Regions from separate parts of the Homo sapiens genome. Here regions 1, 2, 3, 4, 5 and 7 are each linked to region 6. Evidence: promoter capture Hi-C in 16 types of primary human blood cells and fetal thymus (Javierre and others, 2016). All regions are on one chromosome and are shown on one strand. Each heading gives the region's core, a stretch centred on a gene start or on the middle of the fragment in contact. The rest is flanking DNA. Distances are from core to core; before and after follow the strand shown.

Region 1 (3,067 bases), core at 99-2,598, 290 kb before region 6:
CCATTCTCCTGCCTCATTACCATGAACAATATGAATTAAATGTTTTTAAGCTTTCATGGTCAAGGTTTTAAATCTTTTGCATTTCATATCATTTCTAAATTAATCTCTTTTAAATTAAGAGATAGTTTATTGACACTTCCTGAGCTCTCTGAGCAAATTATAAGAATGTGTGCAGTCACCATGGTTTTTTTACCTGACTGTAATAAGGCTTAATATTGTTTTGAAAAATGTATCTGCATTTGTCCTACTTACATTCATTGTGCTAACAGAAATACCCTACATGAATTCTGTTTCCAAAGTTAATTTGGCAAACATCTGCTGCAAGAAAATGGTCCAGATGGTTTCTGACATGTAGTGATAATAAATAAGTGGTCCTTTTCACATATTGCATGGTATTTGCTGTAGTTTTCTATTAAAAGGATGTGGTTTTTAAGGGACAAAAAAAAAAATCACTTAATTTCATGGCAACTCAAGGCACATGGAAACATATGTGACTCATGTGTCTAAATGCCAGGCCACTCTTTATAGATTCCAGTGGGGTCACATTGCCAGGAATATGTCATATGTTACTGACCCATGTTGCTTTCTGATATTTTAATATCACTTGCCACATGCTTTACATGTATTATCTTACTTAATCTTTTCAACTGTCCTACATAGGTATTATCATTATATCTATTTTCTTTCTTTTTTTTTTTTTTTTTTGAGTTGGAGTTTCACTCTTGTTGTTGCCCAGGCTGGAGTGCAATGGCACCATCTCAGCTCACTGCAACCTCTGCCTCCCAGGTTCAAGCAACTCTCCTGCCTTGGCCTCCGGAGTAGCTGGGATTACAGGTGCCTGCCACCACGCCCAGGTAATTTTTTGTGTTTTTAGTAGAGACGGAGTTTCACCATGTTGGCCAGGCTGGTCTCGAACTCCTGACCTCAAGTGATCCACCGGCCTCGGCCTCCCAAAGTGCTGGGATTACAGGTGTGAGCCACCGTGCCCGGCCCATTATCTCTGTTTTCTAGATGAAGAAATAGTCCAAGGGTTTTAGTAAGCGGTAGAGCACCTGACACCAAAGCCCCGTGTTCCTAATATCCACACACCCTCCACCCCAATAGTTTCTAGGCCGTGCTACCTTGTTGCATTGCCACTGGACAAACTCCTGGGTAAGGCTTATTGGCCGAGTCTTCTTCACCTGCAAAATTGCACAAAGACACCTTGCCACACCTCTGAAGCCCACTGTCAGTCCTTTCCCCTGAAAGTGGCACATTTGTTGCCCACCCTCCAAGTTGTCAAACACTGAAGCCACAGAGAGAATGACACAGATGGGGAAAGGCCTCTCTCACTCCACCCAGTGTCCCTCATTAACATCCAAATGGCAGTTTATCACATATCTCACAGAGCGCCTTCTGAAACACCTTCATCTCTGCTTGCCATCCCTCTCTCCATAGGCCAGACCAGGGGACCAAATCTGAGACAGACTCTCTGCATTGCCCTCCCCAAGGGGATAAGACTTTTATTCTCCTTTTGTCAAAACCTACTAGCAACCTGATTTCTACAAACTGAGTGGGGTTAGGAGGGAGGTGAGCACTAAGATATCACAAGAAATGTAACCAGATAAGAGAATAGGGCTGTGTTTACTGAAATTCCTTGCATGAAGAGCATGTCTTGTGGTGGGAAGGAATACATTAGTAAGTCACTTGGAGATTGATATGGTTTGGCTGTGTGTCCCCACCCAAATCTCATCTCGAATTATAATCCCCACATGTCAAGGGAGGCAGGTAATTGGATCATGGGGGCAGTTTCCCCCATGCTGTTCTTATGATAGTGAGTTCTCACAAGATCTGATGGTTTTATAAGCATTTGGAAGTTCCTCCTTTGCTCCTCTCTCTCACCTGCCACCATGTAAGATGTGCCAACTTCCCCTTCTGCCATGATTGTAAGTTTCCTGAGGCCTCCCCACCTAGACAGAATTGTGAGTCAATTAAATCTATTTCCTTTATAAATTACCTAGTCTTGGGTATATCTTTATAGCAGTGTGAAAATGGACTAGTAAGATTCCATGTGAGTGTGTAAAGGTAGAAGCAAGTGGTCACTAAACTGCCTGTTAAGCAGAGCAAGTCTAGTTCACGTCTAAATTTGATTTGTTGGGAAAGTTGAACAAGTTTGAGGCCAGAGTGGAAGTACTCTTGATAACAGACAAGAGTCTGAGTGGGTGGCTCTGCCTCTCCCACAAAGAGTGTTTAATCTTTCCCCTACTGAAGAGATCTTGGACAAATACTTAAAAGAATAGGGCTGTGAAGAAGCACTAAATTGAGAGCTTGAAACTGCCTTACAACTCTGCCCTATCAGTTTCAGCACTTGGTACAACCTGGCGGCTGCTACAGTTCCTGCCTCCCATATAACTGCTTGTGGAAATTTTTAATTTTTCTTTCTTTTTTTGAGATATTGCCCAGGCTGGTCCTGAACTCCTGGGATCAGGCAATCCTCCCTCCTTGGCCTCCCAAAGTTCTGGGATTACAGGCATCAGCTACCACATCCAGGCTGATTTTCTTAAATTTAACTAATTTTTGATGTCAATATTTGTAGCACCTGCTTTAAGTAGAGCCCTAGGCTATTGGTGTTGTGAGAACATAAGAAAAATATCAGAGGAAGCTTTAAATGAACAAGCAAAACTATTGCAAAGCACTTAAATAATATTCACTACCTTAAATAACATTAGTGAGCACTTAAAGTAAGTCTGGTACTGTGCTAAGTGCTTTGCATGCATTATCTCATGTAATACACATATACACACAATACCTTGAGGTCGGTACCAGTATTATCCCCATCTTCCAGGTGAGAAGCAATTGCCGAAGGTCTCTCAGCTAACAAAGGGCAGAGCTACCATAAGTCATCATGGGAAGGAGATCTACCTAGAATGTTTGGGCAAAACTCAGTGAGGAGATGAGAGTAGATCTTTTAAAGAAGAGAAAGAGGCCAGCTGCAATGGCTCACGCCTGTAATCCCAATACTTTGGGGGGATGGATCACTTGAGGTCAGGAGTTCAAGACCAGCCTGGCCAACATGGTGAAACCTCGT
Region 2 (3,060 bases), core at 85-2,584, 280 kb after region 6:
TCATAATTATGTGAAGTGTTTTAAGAACTTTGTTCAAGGTGCTATGAGAACCCAGAAAAGGAAATGTCAAAGCTAGGATACTAGTTCAAAAAGGCTAGTCTAAATTGATTCCTTAGAGGTTAAGTGAAGTTTTTTGCTAGGTGGACAAGAGGCTGGACATATACAAGAACATTAGGTGTTTTGGGAACTCTCTGAGTAGGTGTGATTATCTGCAATATACATGATGGTTCATGGGGGAGAGTGGTGTAAGGAGATGGCTAGAGGAATGATCATGAAATGCCCTTATATATCATGCTAAGGAGTTTTAACATTATACTCTAGGTGATAGTTTTAATTGTGGAATCTGTATAATCAAATTGACATTTTATAATAACTGACAGCAAGGCAGATTAGAAGTTGAGTTAGAAGAGAATAATACCATTGGCAAGGAGTCTAATCAGAAAGCTTTACAGGCCTGGTGCTGTGGCTCTTGCCTATAATCCCAACATTTTGGGAGGCCAAGGTGGGACGATTGATCGCTTCAGCCCAGGAGTTGGAGACCAGCCTGGGCAACATAGTGAGACCCTGTTTCTACCAAAAAATTTTAATTAGCCAGACGTGGTGGTTCACACCAGTAGTCCCAGCTACTTGGGAGGCTGAGGCAGGAAGATTGCTTTAGCCCAGTAAGTCCAGGCTGTGGTGAGCCATGATCATGCCACTGCACTTCAGCCTGGGCAACAAAGTGAAACCCTGTCTCCAAAAAAAGTAAAAAGATCATGGTGATAGCCTAAGATTTCTGCTTTGAATTATTCTGATACACTAATTAGCTTAACCCTTATCTTTTTTAAAAAATTTACTTTTAACAAGCTGCTGATTACCCTAATAGCAGCAATATTATTGGATAGATACTAGGCACTAGGAATTAATCTGTGAATTGCCAGCAAGAGTTAACTAATACCTGGACCTATTTTTAAAGTCGTATATATTATTGGCTCATTGAAAAAATGTTTAATGGAACATTCAACCATGTAGTAAACCAGAATTTAGGGTGTTTTTTCTTTTTAAAGATGTCTTTTGTAATTAAAAAAAAAATCTAGCTAGAGATTATTCTTTTGTGGTTCCTATATTTTAATTATGTTACAAGTTTAAGAATACTAATAATCACTTAAATTTTTTGTTTGTTTGTTTCTGGAGACAGGGTTTTGCTGTGTCTCCTAGGCAAGATACAAACTCGGGCTCAAGCAATCCTCCCAGCTCAGCCTTGGGAGCTGGGACTACAAGAATGCATTGCTACACCCAGCCTAGTAAATATCATTTTTCAGAAACTTTTAAGTCATAGCTTACTGTGTTCTCTATATTCCAGAATTCTGCTTCATTAGAGTACAGGAATTTGTTTAAAACCTGAGAATAATACATCAGATGTTCTTAGATATGTTTTTATATCATTTATTGTAGTTTTAGAAGCTGTAAATCTTCCATTACTGGTTTCTGCGTTATTAGAAAGCTATTAGGGAATTTGGGTGGAGAGGACATCTACCCTCCGCCACCAAGTGTAAGAAAGCTGTGAGGGAATTTGAATTTATGTAATTTCAAAGGAGACATTCACTTTCAGAGAATAACTCATTAGGCTCGAAATTTAATAGTTTCAGCTACTGAAGAGGCTGAGGTAGAAGGATTGATTGAGCCCAAAGGGTGACAGTCAGGTATGATGAGGCCACTGCTCTCCAGCCTGGGTAAGAGAGCAAGACTCTGTCTCAAACAAACAAACAAACAAACAAAAAAGAAAGTCTATATATCTTTTAACTGTTATTTATTTATCTATTTATAAGCCTGCAGTGGTTTCTGGTGTGCATAAGAAAATGAACATTAGCCTATGGAAGGCGGAATCAATTAGTCTTGATTTTGGAGACCACCAAGCTGATCTCCTGAACTGCAAAGATAGCATCATTTCAAATGCCAATGTTAAGGAATTCTGGGATGGTTTTGAAGAAGTTTCAAGTATGTTGGTTTTTATTTTACTATTTTCTCCATCATACTCCTTCAAAATGATAAATTCCAAATGTAACTTAACAGATTTTTAGTCTTTGAAACATCTGTTTTATGTTGTCTAATAAAAAGAAACAAGTAATTGGAAACAAAATACTGGGTCCTAATCCCTATTTCTAGCACTAATTTCCTTTGACCTTAAAGATGCCGTTTATACTGTTTTGCTTATGGAGAAATGTTTGGCAGTTCCATAAGCTTTTGAAAATGGAATTATTTATGTAAAACTCTTTGAAAATTAAAAGTGTAGATGTAAGATTGTGATGTTACCAAGATTTTTAAAAACAACTTTTGAGATATTACAAGTGGGTAATTTAATGAATTCTATTCATGTACAAAAGGAACAAAGGTTTTAATACTACATAAGTACATAAGTAATAAGTCAATAAGCAAGCAATCATTAAGCATGTAATGTGCAACAATCAAATCATTCATTCATTTACGTTTCTTTCCAAATGTTAATAAAGATAAAAAGGCAGAAATTACCCTTTTAGTAATTAACTGCATTCCTTATAGAACGGCAGAAAAACAAGAGTGGAGAAACAGTTGTTTTAAAATTGAAAGACTGGCCTTCAGGAGAAGACTTCAAGACTATGATGCCAGCAAGGTTTGAAACTTTTCATTTTGACTCTTGACTTTTTGAGATCGAGCTAAGACTGTCCCCAGAGATAGGATAAGTAACCGTAAATGTGACCTGTAGGCTTTTTCTTTCTCAATTAAAAATAAATAACTTGAGGCTGAGCGTCATAGTGGCTCACGCCTATAATCCCAGCACTTTGGGAGGCCAAGGCGAGGGGATCGCTGGAGTCCAAGACTTGGAGATCAGTCTGGCCAACATGACAAAACCTTATCTCTACAAAAAAATACAAAAATTAGCCAAGCATGGTGGCAGGCATCTGTAGTCCCAGCTACTTGCGTGGCTGAGGTGAGAGGATCACTGGAGTGGAGGAAGTGGAGGCTGCAGTGAGCTGAGATCGTGCCACTGAACTCCAGCCTGGGTGACAGAGTGAGACCTTGTCTGATGGATTGATTGATAGC
Region 3 (3,090 bases), core at 232-2,731, 260 kb after region 6:
CATAAAACAGATTGCCTCAAACTAGCAGAAGCCGGAGAAACTGGAAGAATCATTTTGCCAAATGTGAATTCAGACAGTGTTCACACAAAATCTGAAAAAAACTTTCAGGCTGTCTCACAGGGCAGTGTTCCCAGTTCAGTCATGTCTGCTGTAAATACGATGTGTAATACCAAAACGGATGTAATCACATCTGCTGCCGATACTACCAGTGTTTCCAGCTGGGGTGGTTCAGAAGTAATTTCCTCTTTATCAAATACCATTTTGGCCTCTACATCATCAGAATGTGTATCTTCAAAAAGTGTCAGTCAGCCAGTGGCTCAAAAACAAGAATGCAAGGTCAGCACCACAGCACCAGTTACATTAGCCAGTAGTAAGACAGGAAGTGTTGTTCAACCCAGTTCTGGGTTCTCAGGCACAACTGATTTTATCCATTTAAAAAAGCACAAGGCAGCATTGGCTGCAGCTCAGTATAAAAGTAGTAATGCCAGTGAGACTGAACCTAATGCTATAAAAAATCAGACACTTTCAGCCTCCCTTCCTCTGGATAGCACTGTAATCTGTAGTACAATTAACAAAGCAAACTCTGTAGGAAATGGGCAAGCTTCCCAGACAAGTCAACCAAACTACCATACTAAACTGAAAAAGGCCTGGCTCACCAGACACTCAGAAGAAGATAAAAATACTAATAAAATGGAAAATTCAGGGAATTCTGTATCAGAAATTATTAAGCCATGTTCTGTCAACTTAATAGCCTCTACATCTAGTGATATACAAAATAGTGTAGATAGTAAGATCATAGTTGATAAATATGTAAAAGATGATAAAGTCAACAGGAGAAAAGCCAAAAGAACTTATGAATCTGGCTCTGAAAGTGGAGACTCAGATGAAAGTGAAAGCAAGTCAGAGCAAAGGACTAAAAGACAACCTAAGCCAACTTACAAAAAGAAGCAAAATGATTTGCAAAAGAGAAAAGGTGAAATAGAAGAAGATTTGAAACCCAATGGAGTTCTCAGCAGGAGTGCCAAAGAAAGAAGTAAACTGAAGTTGCAAAGCAACAGTAATAGTAAGTCAGTTACTTTGTTTTATCTCAGGTAAAATGGGCTGAATGTTTTAGCTATACTAGTGTGCTGCTTTAAAGATCAGTGAGCTTAAAGGCATCCTTTGTCTTCATTTGCGTGCCTTAGCTTTATGTATATGCTCATTGATCTCATTTCTACATTTCACAAGTAAGTACCCTTTAAGAGGAAATGAGAGAACACTTATTCCTCTATTTTTAAAAGACTTGTAGAAATATATATCTTACCTGACAGTCATTGTAGGTAATTTGCGTAATTTAACGTGGAATTTAGTAGTTACTCGTAATTTTGGCCATTTCTAAGAATTGTCAAAATGCAGTTATGGCTGTCACACCAAAAGTGGATTTGTAATATCAGCTAAGATATTTACCTCTAACAAGATGTAGTCAGGAAAGAAATTCTGCTCACATACACATATTTTGAGGCAAATTTCTAGAAGATAGTTACAGTTGTCCCTGGGTATACCTGTGGGGGATTGGTTCCAGGACGCCCCCACGGATACCAAAATTCACAGATGTGCACATCCCTTATATAAAATAGCATAGTACAGTCATGTGCTGCATAACAACTTTTCAGTCAGTGACAGAATGCACAGCTGGGCACAGTGGCTCACTCCTGTAATCCCAGCACTTTGGGAAGCTGAGGCAGGAGGATCACTTGAGCTGGCGTGGTTGAAGCTGCAGTGAGCCATGATTGCACCACCGCACTCCAGCCTGGGCAACAGAGCAAGACCATGTCTCAAAAAATAAACAAAAAATGATGGAATGTATATATGACAGTGGTCTCATATAAGATCGTAAGACTGTGTTTTTACTATACCTCTTTCTTTGTTCAGATACGTAAATACTTTGTGTTACAATTATCTACAGTATAAAGTACAGTAAATACTGTACGGGTTTGTAAGCTAGGTTTGTGTAAGTACATGCTATGAAGTTCCTACAGTGAGGAAATTGCCTAATAGTGTATGACTATATTTGCATGTAACCTACACACATCCTCCCATATACTTTAAATCATTTCTAGATTCCTTATAATGCCCAACACAACGCTTACACATCACTTCATTTATGCAGGATTGAACATAGTACTCTGCACATGGCAAATTAAAGTTTTGTTTTTTTGGAACTTTGTAGAATATTTTTTCCCCCAAGTATTTTTGATCCATGGTAGGTTGAACCCATGGGTTTGGAACCCACGGTTATGGAGGGCCAATTTTACTTCAGAGTAATATGAATGTGGACTGTATTTCACTCTTATATCATCTGGTGACAAAATTGGAAGCTTATGGAAATTACTATCTATTTAATGCTGCTCATTCAAACAGTCCTTAACAATAGGTAAAAATTAACATAAGGGGAGGCTTGTGGTTTTGTGTATTCATTTCGATGTTAAAGAATTGCCATATTAATAGCTTCACAACTGATTATATATCCTTTGTGGCAACAGCTGGACAAAATAAGAGATACTTAACAGTAATATTCACTATAAAGTGTTTCTATATCATTTTACTCTAGTAGTAGTTTTTCTCAGTTTGCTTATTTCTTTTTAGGTATGTTGCACAATGCAGAAAGCACTTAGTTTCACTATGTCCGTGTGTTCATCCACATACAATATATGAAATATCTGTGACAATGTGGACACTCAAAGTACTTTCACAAGCACTTGGATGCTTGAAGGCTCCCATTTGTGCCTTTTAACTGAATGAGGTTTTCCCACATGCCTGTGTGGAAACCAGAGGCAAAGTGAAGGAGAGGAAAACAGGAGGATGGAATCATAGAAAAGGACAGTCAGAAAGTGAAAGAACAAAGGACAAACTCAACTAGAGCCAGAGACTGACAGACTGAAATGCAAGCATAGTCAGAAGACAGAGAGGGGGATTAACATCGAAGGATACCTGCCATTTACTTGAATATTGGATTATATACAGTGTTGCTTTTTCTTATGTGTTCCCCTTACTCTCCCTCACTACCCCCATGAATTCATAATAGGCTTAGTGTGAGCAATTTAATTGTTT
Region 4 (2,921 bases), core at 414-2,913, 310 kb before region 6:
GATTTTAAATTGCTCCATAGGTCTCTGTGTGCTCAATTGGAGCATTTTGCATTCTCTCAAAAGCTTCACGTGCTCCACATTAGGTAAACAGGGACCACAGGAGTCATAACACCACAGGAATACTGGTTTATTAAAGAGGAAATTAGATTCAATTCCAGGATATGCCATTAAGTGTCTGGGTGACCTTGGGCAAGTCACTCAACCTCCCTGAACACCAGTTTCCTTTGTGTGAAATAAAAAGATTGGACAAAATAACCACTGAGGTCTCTTTAACATACTATAAGTCACATTTTGTTCTGTCTTTTCTTTTGATGACATCTTTTTGCTTCTCTTTTCCAAAACGTCAGTTCCCAAATTAAAAGGTGCAAAGTTTCATAAACTTCTCATAAATGACATTCATTCAATCCCTCCAAGGTTATTCTCTCTTATGTCCCACACTCTAGGATAGTTAGAGATACTCTGATCTCTGTTACACTTATTTCTACACATCACTTCAGTCCACAAAGGATTTGAGCCTGTCTAATTTCACTTCCAAAAATTTCAAATTCTCTTGCATGCATACTGTGCACAATATTATTTTAAGACTAAACCCTTTTCCAAAATGTGCTTAACAATGTTTACTTGGGTTTTTTCTCCATTAAAAGAGGAGAGTGACATATGTATAAAGAAGGATGCAAAATGAATGCAGACTGGATACGGGTGAGTTCCAGCCAACTGCCACCCTTTCTCCTGGCTTGATGGCTAATCACCAAAATACATTCCTGAGCTGTTCTCTCTCCTCATACATTCATTTAAGAATGAATTCACTTCTGTTTCAAGTTGTCCCATTTGGGAAAATCTAGATTGCATCAACAACAGCTTGAAAAAAGAATTGAGAGGAGTAGAAAGGCAAGAAAGAAGTCCTACAAATTAAAATAATCTTTTTAAGGTCTAAGGCAAGAAAGAAGTCCTACAAATTAAAATAATCTTTTTAAGGTCTAAGTCAAGAAAGAAAGCTCTGGCTCTCAGTGTACAGTCAGTCTATGCAAGGAAGTCTTTTTTGTATTTAGTAACCAAACATTTTAATAACATTAATTTGCTGTTAGTATGTAGAGCAACATCAAACTCCACAGTTGACATCTTTCTACTGACACAACCAACCACAAATCCTGGCTGGATTGTTAGCACAGTCCTGGACTGACATGTGCCTCATAGACCTGCCATGTTTTAGCTGGAATTCTCTCAGTACAGATGAGACTTATGTTTTGCAGAATTTTAAAAATAGAAAGACCCCAGGTTTTAATGGGTCTCCACTATACCAGCATCAATATTTTACATGATATTTCTTAAATATATATTCTTATAACATTTTAAATAATGAAGACTGCAAAGCTAGATATTTGGAAAAACAATATTTGGACCAATCAGGGCCTGAACCAAAGTGGAACCCAAGGGTCAAAATGAATCCCACTGATTTGATTCATTCATTTATTCAACAAACACATATCAAGCAACATCTCTTGGCAACTATTCTAGGCACTGTAGGGGATCTATAAAGCTCACAATGATCACACCCCAGGCCAAGCATGAGCCTATAATCCCAGGGTTTTAGGAGGCTGAGGTGGAAGGATCACTTGAGGCCGAGAGTTTGAGATCAGCCTGAGCAACACGGCAAGACCCTGTCTCTAAAAAAATTTTAAATTAGCCAGGTGTGGTGGCATACTGCTGTAGTCCCAGCTACTCAGAAGGCTGAGATGGGAGGATTGCTTGAGGCCAGGAGTTCAAGACTGCAGTGAGTAGTGAGCCATGATCACGCCACTGCACTCCAGCTGGGGCAACAGAGAGAGACCCAATCTAACCAAAAAAAAAAAAAAAAAAATGATTACACCCCAGAGCAGAGTGAAAAGTGGTACTACTGGAGAGGCATAAAGACAGTGCTCTATTCCCTCTGACAAGCCTATTAAAAAAGGACCTGATAACCTGAGAAATAGAAGTAAGTTCTAACTTCCTTCAGCCCCTACTAAGGTCAGGGCAGAGCAGGACATATGTAAACTCTGACCCAAAAACATACAATATTAGGGGTCACTGGTATCCTCCCAGAGGGATGCCAACATAGGTATCTGGCTAGAGGGGAAAGCTGAGCCTGCCTCAGGGAACAGGGCCTCTAGAAGTGGGGCCAGCCTCTCAGCTGTTCAGCCTTCACCTACCATGGAATCCCAGACACCAGGAAAAAATGATACCTTAGAGAAGAAGCCATTATAGACTAGAGGGGAATAGAAAAACAAGAATGAAGACCGATAAATTAAAACAATCTTTCCTCAACCCAAGACAGGAAAGGCTCATCTGGAGGAGGAAGGCTCTCTGATGGGTAGGAGAAGAAGGAGAATTATCAAAGTGAGCCCACCTCCTAGAACATTCTGCTTTGAACTGTGGGAAGAGATAAAGATAGAGAGAAGAATAGCTCAAGTGCTGATGAGTGACCAGGAGATTAAACAGCCTGAGGAACTGATGACAGGAAGTGGATTTTAAAGTAAAGACGATATAATTGAGCACACAGGCTCACTTGCCCTCAAACACACTAGAAAGAGTCAATTCAGTCTAAAGCCAAGTCTACCCAAGATCCCACTAGTCGCTCTTGCGAAAAATTCTGCCCCAGAGTTTCTTCTCCAGGCAGATCAGATGTGTGCCTCACAGGTAGGCAGCAGGAAGAAGGAGTTTCAACAGGTTATGAAGGGGGCGCCAAAAATCCAGCCTGTAGAACCTGTAAGTACAGAAGTCTCACACAAGAAAGGAAGACTAGAAGAAGTCAGGAGTGAATAGATTCACCAGCTGGGCGTTTGGGTTGTGAACGTCAGACGCTGAAGAGCTGGAAGAGAACAGAGAAGCCAGAGGTGGAGGCCCAAAGCTATCAGACATTGGGCAGAATTAACATTGAAAATGAA
Region 5 (2,955 bases), core at 368-2,867, 260 kb before region 6:
GGTGAGGTGCAGCCCCATGTTAAACTCTCAAAATGTCGCCTTGGACCAGGAGCCAGAGAGGGCGTGCACCACCCAGGCAAGCAGTATGGGCAAGAAGCTGTGGGGAGTGCAGTGTGATCACGTCTCAGTCTCACAGCAGCTCATTACAGGGCAGTGGGTATTGTCCTAGATAGGCGTAGAATGGCCTGGATTCCCTGTCAATCCCTGCCCAGGCTGGCAGCATGGGGGAGGGCAGTTCACTCGTGTCTCAGTCTCCACAGCAGCTTATAGCAGAGTGGCAAGCACCTTCCCGAGGGTGCATGGGAGCGCCCAGTCTTGCCTCTTCCTCCTTGGAGCAGCTGCAGCTGTGTCTGTAGATCCCTGGTATCTGGGCTCTCAAAGTGGCTCCCAGCTGAGACTGCTCCAGGCTCAGATGCCCGTGGGATTCTGTGTGGGTTCCCTTTCTGGAGCAAGATTCCTGTGCAATCTTTAGGCAGCTCCGTATGTCAGGCATGAGGCCCCAGTGGGTCAGGGGTTCCTCCCATAGCCAAGATCGTAAAAACCCATTTTGGAGCTCTGGGGATTTCTCTCTCACTGTTTCCCCAAGGCCAGAAACCTCTCAGCTCTCAGTCAGCTCTCAGCTGAGCAAGCTGCCTCGAACCCTCTCCTCAATTACTTCTGGCACTTATCATCTCTTCTCCGATGAATTCAAGTGTTCCCTTATAGACAGTTATTCTGAAGGCTGAGAAGTCTAAAACTAAGGTGCTGGCAGATCTGGTGTCTGATGACAGCCTGCATCCTGGTTTGCAGACGGCTATCTTCTTGTATCCTAACATGATTAAGAACAGAGAGAATGGCCTTCTCTTATTATCTTTGAAATTCAGCTAAGACCCTGAAGCCAAAGAGACCCACTAGGTACATTTCTGCAGAATTTTATTTTAAAATGCCCAAGCTCATCCTTAAAATACCAAACTTCAAAACGAAACACAGAAAATAACAAGTGTTGGTGAGGATGTGGAGAAAATGCCAAAAGACAGGCAATAATAAATAAATAAAAATAAATAAATAAAACTTCATTAATTACCTTCAGCCAATTTAAGAGAAGGCTATACATTCATTATGGGGTGCTTTGTTTTTTGTTTTTTGTTGTTTTTGAGACACAGTCTCGCTCTGTTGCCCAGGCTAGAGTGCAGTGGCACGATCTTGGCTCACTGCAACCTCCGCCTCCTGGGTTCAAGTGATTCTCCTGCCTCAGCCTCCCGAGTAGCTGGGATTACAGGTGCCTACCTCCACACCTGGCTAATTTTTTATTTTTAGTAGACACAGGGTTTCACCATGTTGGCCAGGCTGGTCTCAAACTCCTGATCTCCGGTGATCCACCCACCTTGGCCTCCCAAAGTGCTGGGATTCCAGGCGTGCGTCTCTCTGCCCGGCCTATGAGGTGCTTTGAAAGGCATTTTTAGAACTAGAAAAGCTTTGGCTTTTTCCCTCCCTCCCTACTGCTAAGCCAAGTGAAGGAGTCCAAGCAAATCAGTCACAGGGACCAGAAATGCCTACGAGAAAGATTTGTATCTCACTTCCTGGCTGGATGTTTACAGAGCCCTGACATCACAGGCCCTGGTGCTGCTTCCAGACCATAGAGAACAACAAGTGTTCTTAGGAGAGCCAAAGAGCATCCACAGGCATTTGCTGGCATCTTTGCCTGGTTTCCATCCATCTCAAGAACGCTGAAGGCAAGAGACTGGCTGGAGCAGCATGCAATTACAGGGTGGGAGAGAGGGCTGATTAGATGGTTAAGCTTTAGGGAGGAAAAGGATGGACAGTGTTTTCCCATTGACCAAGGGAACCTGAAGAGAGTAGCAAGACATGCATCATCTGGAACAGACCCTGACCAAAAGAACTACTGCCTGAAGCCAGGGGTCCCCAGCAGGAAGAAGCTGTGTAGAGTGAAGCCCAGAACATGTGGGGCAAAAGCTGAGAGAAGATTTTCAGAAGCAACTGGAGAATGACCAGAATAGGAGGAACCCCCTGCATCCCCACAGGGTGCCCTGGAGAAGCTCTATGTGAATTCTCAGATTAACAGAGGGAATGAGTCCCAGCCAGTATTATCCATGAGAGAATCACATACAATACCAGCTAAGTACAGTGACACTTTGCTCCTCTTTCTCTGATCTGCATGCTGGATTCTATACTAGAGGAATTAGAAAGCAGGAAAGAGATGAGAAATAGTCAGAAAAACACTGAAAGAACAGTCATGCTCTCCTTCCTCAGAGTCAGAAGTAAGAAGAGTTAAGGAGAGAAGATTCAAGCTATATATGAGATTGGACTAAGTTTTTTTTTGGCTGGGGAGGGCGTTGTTTTGTTTTGTTTTTTTAATACAGGGTCTCACTCTGTCACCCAGGCTGGAGGACAGTGGTGCACTCATAGCTCATTGTAACCTCAATCTCCTGAGCTCAAGTGATCCTCCCACCTCAGCCTCCTAAGTAGCTGGGACTATAGGCATGCACCATCACACCCAGCTAATTTTTTTTTTTAATACAGACAGGGTCTTGCTAGGTTGCTCAGGCTGGTCTCAAACTCCTGGCCTCAAGTGATCCTCCCACTCAGCCTCCCAAAGTAGTGGAGTTACAGGCGTGACCCACCATGCCCAGCCCAGACTAACATTTTTAATACCTGAAAACAGGGGCTAGGCACAGTGGCTCATGCCTGCAATCTCAGCACTTTGGGAGGCCCAGGCAGGAGCCCAGGAATTCAAGACCAGCCTGGGCAACATAGTGGGACCTCATGTGTACCAAATACACACACACACACACACACACACACACACACACACACACACACACACAATTAGCCAGGTATGGTGCATATTCCTGTAGTCCCAGTTGCTCCGGAGACTGAGATTGAGGATCACTTGAGCCCAGGAGGTTAAGGCTGCAGTGAGGCAACAGAGTGAAACCATGTATTAAAAATAAGAAA
Region 6 (3,061 bases), core at 66-2,565:
AAACATGTAATTAGTATCACCACAAATGAGAAGAATGAAAGGATCACATTTTCCCCCTCGTTTTCCCTTGAAGTCATGAACGGTTGGTTCTGCTGTGACTTTGGGGCTTAGTTTTCAGTAGAAGTGTTGTCCTGCTCTGCTGCTGTTACTGCGGGACTGCTAATTCAGGCTAACTCAGGCGGCGGGCGCTGTGTGCTCTGAACATCAAACCGCGGGTGAGGCGTCAACCCAGGAGTTTATTTTGTGATCAGAGTGGAACCACTACACTTCACTTTCCCCTCACCTCCACCTCTGAGGGAGCAACGAATACAAAGGTAGACCCCCAAAAGCTTTGAATAGCTGTCGCCTACTTTCCCGCGGCCCTCTTCATTTTTTCGTCTCCCGCTGCCGCCGCCGCCGCCGCCTCTGGATCTGGACGGACCCAGTGGCCGCTGCCGCCTCCGCAGGGCCGGGCACTACTTTCCGTCTGCGGTGGTTCCGCCGACCCTCCCGCGGCTGCTGCCCCGCCCGCGCCGGCGGAAGGAGACGCGCTGCGCGCCGCCGCTGCCCGGGGAGGGAGACGGAGCAGTACTGGCCGCGGCGCGGTGGCGGCGGCTGGGCTGCCTCGGGGTCTTCGACGGCCGCGTTGGGTTTTGTTTCAGTTTTCTTGTGTGGCGCTGCAGCACAAGGCTGCGAATCTGGGAGTCCAAAGGAGTGTTTGCGGGGAGGGCCCGAGGTCGCTGTGTCCGGGGCAGAGCGGCCGGTTCGTCCCGAGTCTGCGCTCTTTCGGGTCCGCTGCTGTGTCCCGGTCCGCTCTCCTCAGCATGAGCGGCCGGTAGGAGTGAGGTTTCATCGGTTCCCTCGCACTGGAGGAGGCAGCGGCCGCTTCGGCAGCGACAGCTATGGCGGTAGAGACGCGGGCAGAGCTGGTGGGTAAGCGGTTCCTGTGTGTGGCGGTCGGCGACGAGGCACGTTCGGAGCGCTGGGAGAGCGGACGCGGCTGGCGAAGCTGGCGAGCGGGGGTCATCCGAGCCGTGTCACACAGGGACAGCCGCAATCCGGACCTGGCGGTAAGAGAGTCAGCGCCCCCCTTTTCCCCTGCCGCGCCCGCACCCGGCTCTCGCAGACGTACCTTGCAGGCTTCCCTCTGGCGCCTCGCTCAGCCCGGCCAACTGGCGGTCACGCCCCTCTGCTGAACCCTTGGCGCGTTTGCCCGCATCCCTTGCCTGGGTCCCTGCGTCTCTCCGAGCGGCTTCCCCTGTGGAGGTGGTGTCGGAGCAGGACTCCCGGGATAGCCGCGGAGGCTGCCCTGGCCCCCATCCCGGAGGGGTCGACCGCGGCTCCCCGCTGTGGCGCCTGGGCGGCCACGGAGACCTCCCCGAAAGGCGGAGCCGCGAGTCCGGCGCCGCGCGGGCAGGTGGGGGTAGGGGGCGGACCACTCATGGCGACAGGCGGCCAGCTTCCCTGGTATCTCTTTTCTTGGAAAAGTCTTCATAGTGCTGTAGCTCGAGACTTAAAACTTATCCTGTAAGGTTGCTGAAGGGGAGGGAGAAAAGAAAAGAGACCTTCCCACACAGTCCGGGGATTCCTATGTGTTTTAGAGGCAGAGGCCGTGGTGGTGGCTGTGCCCGGATTCATCCTCTCCTTAATAGATGCTTGGCTTTCTAACCGTAAAGGATAAAAGTGAAAAATTTTGGTATGGAGGGTAATCTCTCTTTCTGTCCCCAATGTGCTTTTCTTGTTAGAAAGGTATAGTTCTTTGGAGTCAAGCTGTTTCTGGGTTTTATACGATTTTAAATAAGACGAAAAATGTTGTCAATTAAAATGTTAAATGCCATGCAGAATTGATTATCTTTTTTTTTTTTTGGTTTCTTACATGTGACGCTGCCAGTGCTTTCTTTGAGTAGCGTAGGTATGTGCATGATATTGAGCTGTAATATGCTCTGTTGTGTTCCAAGTACATTCTCACTGAGGGACAGCTTGAAGGTAAGGGGCGGAGTAGAGACAAGACATGGACTAGACTTCCAAAGGTTGATTTATGAATACGTAATCTGTGAAATTTATTTGTAATGCCCTGAGCCATTTACTTTTTCAATGAAAACTTCAAATTTAGGAAATTTTTTTCCCTTTGTGTGCATGAAAGCTTACAATTCCAAATTCATTGTAATATTTGTACAGGTATCTACCTAATATTTTTTACCTACCTATTTTAATAGTTTCTGAGTGTGTTTTTGTAAACTCGGGTTTTCCTCACTGTAGTCAATGATATGGTTAATGCGGCATGTATTAATATTGACTCGATATCGCAAAATAGGTGTGTTTTGCTGATAGGTATTTCTAACAGAAAATAGAGGTAGTTTTGAAGGTTTTGGCTGGTTATTTTCGTATAGAAATGTATAATCTTCCTTAAAAAGTATTGGTGATGTTAGTGGTTCTAAAAATTATGGCAGTTCAATTCAGTAACTATTTTTGTTTGTGTAAAAGGCTGAGGTAAGAGGATTGCTAGAGCCCAGGACTTATTAAGAGTCCAGCCTGGGCAACATAGGTGAGACCCCCTCATCTGTAAAAAAGGAAAAAAAAAATTTGTATATATAAATAACTTAATTGCTCTCTTAGTTGGGAATTTAAGTGATTAAAGAGTTAAGTTTGCATATGTTAGTAAGGTATTAAGCTGGATATTAAAAAATAAATTATCTATGGATGGTAGAGATTGACTGGAAAGAATAGGAGTTTCTTCAGGTGATAGAAATGTTTCCTATCCTGATTGTTGGTTACACAGATATATATATTTGTCAAAACTCGTTGAATTGATACTATCTTTGCGTTTCACCATATCTAAATTTTACCAAAAAAAGAAAAATGTATGTTGAACCATACCTATGTGAACCCTTGATGAGTTTTTTTAATCTGTCTTTATTTGAAAATTTGAATATTAATTTAGTTTTTTTAGCCTAGAATCTACCATTTTAGATTTATTCCCAGATTTTCTTACATTCACATTTCTTAAACGAAACTTGGAACAGTTTAGCATTAACATAATGTAATATTCCTGTTCGACTTTGATTACTGCAGAGTAGATTTT
Region 7 (2,718 bases), core at 168-2,667, 310 kb after region 6:
TGACGTTTCTACAAAATCAGCATCTACATCCAGCTCCTTTTCTATTGGACCTTTTAGAAGTCTGGCCTTTTCAGCCTTTAGTTGTTTATTTTCTTTCCTTAATCTTTCATTCTCAGCCACAAGGAATTCCACATGCCTCTTCAAATCTGCAATTTTGGTTGCCTGCTCCTCTATAATTGTTTTATCATCTTTTGGGGCTTTGCTTCCAATACATGGCTCTGCTGGCTCACTCTTTTGCTGAAGTAAATAAAGTAGTGTGTCTGGATCCCTGTCAAAGATCCCCTGAATCTCAGGCAGGCATTTCTCTGTGGAAGGGCTGTACTTCTGAGAAAGGGGACTCTGGCCCTCTGCATCCTCTGCAGAGGGTTTGTGAGATGTCTGAAGATGGGCAGCTGCATCCTTGTCTGTGTTCTGCTGGGCTTTCAATCTTTCTTCACGCTGGGCCCTTTTCCATCTCTCTTGGATGAGGAGGAGCTGTTTCATATGGCTATCCCTTTGCAATTCCAGTGAAAGATGAGCCTATTACATAGAAGGAAAGATAAAATTGGAAGAATATTTTAAGTATCTTAGTAATGTCCAACATACACTATTCAAAATCCTTTGTGAATAACCCAACACTTACAATTTACAATTTACTATGTTTGCAAAAATACCATTCAGAAAGTCAGAAGTCCTATTCCCAATCAATACACTAAATTGGATGTTTTCCTCAATGTGCCTGACCCCATGTGTAATGTCATTTGTACTCAAAATTAGAAATCTTTCCTCTGTAGACATATTAATTCTACCAACAGCTAAAAAGAAAGTCTTCCTATCAACCGCGTGTTTGGATAACTCAATGCATGCCTGTATCATGAGCAGATTCTATACTTTCAAAGGCAGTGAAAGGGATAGAACACAACTTTAAAGTTCCCTTGGTTCAGTTTGAGAAACTAGTGGCTTTCCCTGCCACTGATATACCTCACAGAAATGATCTCTTTAACTAATACTTTTATAACAAAAAGTTTTTAAAAAGATATTTTATATATATTTATTTTAGAGACAGGGTCCCTGTTGCTGAGGCTGAAGTGCAATGGCGCAGTCATAGCTCACTGCAGCCTTGGACTCAGGTGTTCAGTGATCCTCTCACCTCAACCTCCCAAGTAGCTAGAACTACAGGCATGTGCCACCACGCCCAGCTAATTTTTTAAGTTTTTGTAGAGATGGGGTCTCACTGTGTTGCCAAGGCTGGTCTCGAACTCCTGGGCTCAAGTGATCCCCCTGCCTTGGCCTCCCAAAGTGCTGGGATTACAGGCATGGGCCACCATGCCCAGTCTTATGAATAAATGTATCTTGAAACACTTGGCAGGGCCTCCCCAAACACAGAAGACAATTTAAAGCAATTGGTGAAACAAATTTAAAAGTGCCTGAACTGCTTAAGAATTCAAGCAAAGACAAGTGGGAGACTGGTCAGATTTAAATTATCTTTGACAAGCAAAGGGTGGTCCAACTAGTTTCCTCTTGGCCAGGCCTGTTTACTGACTGTAAGCTAATGATCAAATAAGAGCTAATGATTAGGAATGGTCCGAAGAGGGCTCTCTAAAAGGTACATCTGGCTGGCAATCTGAGATCTGTGAGTAACCACTAGAAAAAAAGAAGTTTCTGCATTCCATGTCTGGGGCATCGACTGCAGTTCATTTAGTTTTAATTTCCGTTGTGAAGTGCTCTTCCCTTGCCCATTTTATATATTTTTGACTATAGCATTTTGAGAGGGACACAATGCTTTGCTTTACACACAATTCAAGCCTCCACAAGAAAACCTTTCTAACCCTTGTCGCAAATATTGGGAATATGTCTCACCTGCTCTGACTGTGTCAGCTTCATGGCTTCAGAAAGATATGCTGTTAAGAGAAAAAATAGGCATGTTAATATGTGTCTTCATTTTGTAATTAACAGGTAAAAGGAAGAGTTTTAATAATCTTCATATGACAAAGAGAACTGGTCTGATAACTCTGATACAATTGGGGATTTTTTAAAAGAATTCTTAACTTCCCCCAAAAGGATGTCAGTGGCAATAAAATGAAAATATTCCCTACCCTATCTTGAAGGTTTTGTTATTTAAAACTCCTACAGATTTTATAATTCAGAAACTGAAGATGGTCTAATCAGAAAAATAGGTTTAGGAAAGATAAAAATCAAACAAGAACCTATCCAAACCCTATTACTCATCATACTCACAAAAATATCATGAGATTATCAATGACTTTTTATCCGTCTGAATACCTGGAATCTATCATTTTGGACTCCTATAGAATCACTTTTAATGAATTGTCTCTGAGTTAAACCATCAGCCTTATGGTTAAAAGCCCTAAGAACTTGTTGACATATTTACTGCGAGGAAGTTACTGAGGACAGTATAATGTCATTTATGAAGACCTTCAATAAACTTCTCTCTGATCTTAGATCCTCGGTGACTATTTGTTTGAATTTTAATAGCCAATGTAAAAATTATTATCTTTCCTCTTTAGGATGACTGCTAGAAAACTTAAGTCAAGTTCTTAAAAAAATATGCAAGAACTAATGGTACATTTTGTGAACTACACTACTAGTCCTTTCTCATTTTCTCTATGGATGTCCTTATCTATGTATCTTTAATTACATTCGATATTTTATTGTACATTCATCTGTAAGACATTTTATAACCTTTCGGGAACAAGGTTAGGTATAAATAAGTTCTCT

What was found. Contacts are between HindIII fragments. The CHiCAGO score rates a contact against its expected background, and 5 or more counts as called.
Region 1: a contact is called between a fragment that was not itself captured here and the fragment with the promoter of JMJD1C-AS1 in region 6, in 1 of 17 cell types (endothelial precursors). The highest score is 5.1, in endothelial precursors.
Region 2: a contact is called between a fragment that was not itself captured here and the fragment with the promoter of JMJD1C-AS1 in region 6, in 10 of 17 cell types (M2 macrophages, endothelial precursors, M0 macrophages and 7 more). The highest score is 8.6, in M2 macrophages.
Region 3: a contact is called between a fragment that was not itself captured here and the fragment with the promoter of JMJD1C-AS1 in region 6, in 17 of 17 cell types (endothelial precursors, activated CD4 T cells, erythroblasts and 14 more). The highest score is 20.9, in endothelial precursors.
Region 4: a fragment that was not itself captured here is called in contact with the fragment with the promoter of JMJD1C-AS1 in region 6 in 1 of 17 cell types (endothelial precursors); the score reaches 6.1 in endothelial precursors.
Region 5: a fragment that was not itself captured here is called in contact with the fragment with the promoter of JMJD1C-AS1 in region 6 in 5 of 17 cell types (endothelial precursors, monocytes, M1 macrophages and 2 more); the score reaches 10.8 in endothelial precursors.
Region 7: a fragment that was not itself captured here is called in contact with the fragment with the promoter of JMJD1C-AS1 in region 6 in 1 of 17 cell types (neutrophils); the score reaches 7.0 in neutrophils.

What each region holds. Positions count from the first base shown.
Region 1 is chr10:63,749,302-63,752,368 of GRCh38, reverse strand. No RefSeq gene overlaps it. Among named protein-coding and RNA genes, the nearest start is that of REEP3, 230 kb to the right of the region's middle. The HindIII fragment of the contact is 2,591 bases long and covers 53-2,643 here.
Region 2 is chr10:63,185,132-63,188,191 of GRCh38, reverse strand. JMJD1C (jumonji domain containing 1C) reads left to right here. Exons shown (of 26, transcript NM_032776.3): 19 at 1,809-1,977; 20 at 2,539-2,629. Among named protein-coding and RNA genes, the nearest start is that of NRBF2, 53 kb to the right of the region's middle. The HindIII fragment of the contact is 1,776 bases long and covers 447-2,222 here.
Region 3 is chr10:63,204,568-63,207,657 of GRCh38, reverse strand. It overlaps JMJD1C (jumonji domain containing 1C), which reads left to right. Exons shown (of 26, transcript NM_032776.3): 10 at 1-1,063. Among named protein-coding and RNA genes, the nearest start is that of NRBF2, 73 kb to the right of the region's middle. RefSeq lists a silencer at 1,083-1,283. The HindIII fragment of the contact is 1,756 bases long and covers 604-2,359 here.
Region 4 is chr10:63,770,505-63,773,425 of GRCh38, reverse strand. No RefSeq gene overlaps it. Among named protein-coding and RNA genes, the nearest start is that of REEP3, 250 kb to the right of the region's middle. The HindIII fragment of the contact is 3,195 bases long and covers 66-2,921 here.
Region 5 is chr10:63,721,338-63,724,292 of GRCh38, reverse strand. No RefSeq gene overlaps it. Among named protein-coding and RNA genes, the nearest start is that of REEP3, 200 kb to the right of the region's middle. The HindIII fragment of the contact is 324 bases long and covers 1,456-1,779 here.
Region 6 is chr10:63,463,483-63,466,543 of GRCh38, reverse strand. It overlaps JMJD1C-AS1 (JMJD1C antisense RNA 1), which reads right to left and starts at 1,315. Exons shown (of 1, transcript NR_027182.1): 1 at 1-1,315. JMJD1C (jumonji domain containing 1C) reads left to right here and starts at 567. Exons shown (of 26, transcript NM_032776.3): 1 at 567-1,049. The coding sequence starts at 882. RefSeq lists enhancers at 105-154, 605-774, 855-924, 546-1,335 and silencers at 425-574, 1,115-1,454. The HindIII fragment of the contact is 1,793 bases long and covers 332-2,124 here.
Region 7 is chr10:63,151,312-63,154,029 of GRCh38, reverse strand. NRBF2 (nuclear receptor binding factor 2) reads right to left here. Exons shown (of 4, transcript NM_030759.5): 3 at 1,840-1,880; 4 at 1-519. Among named protein-coding and RNA genes, the nearest start is that of NRBF2, 19 kb to the right of the region's middle. The HindIII fragment of the contact is 5,670 bases long and covers 1-2,718 here.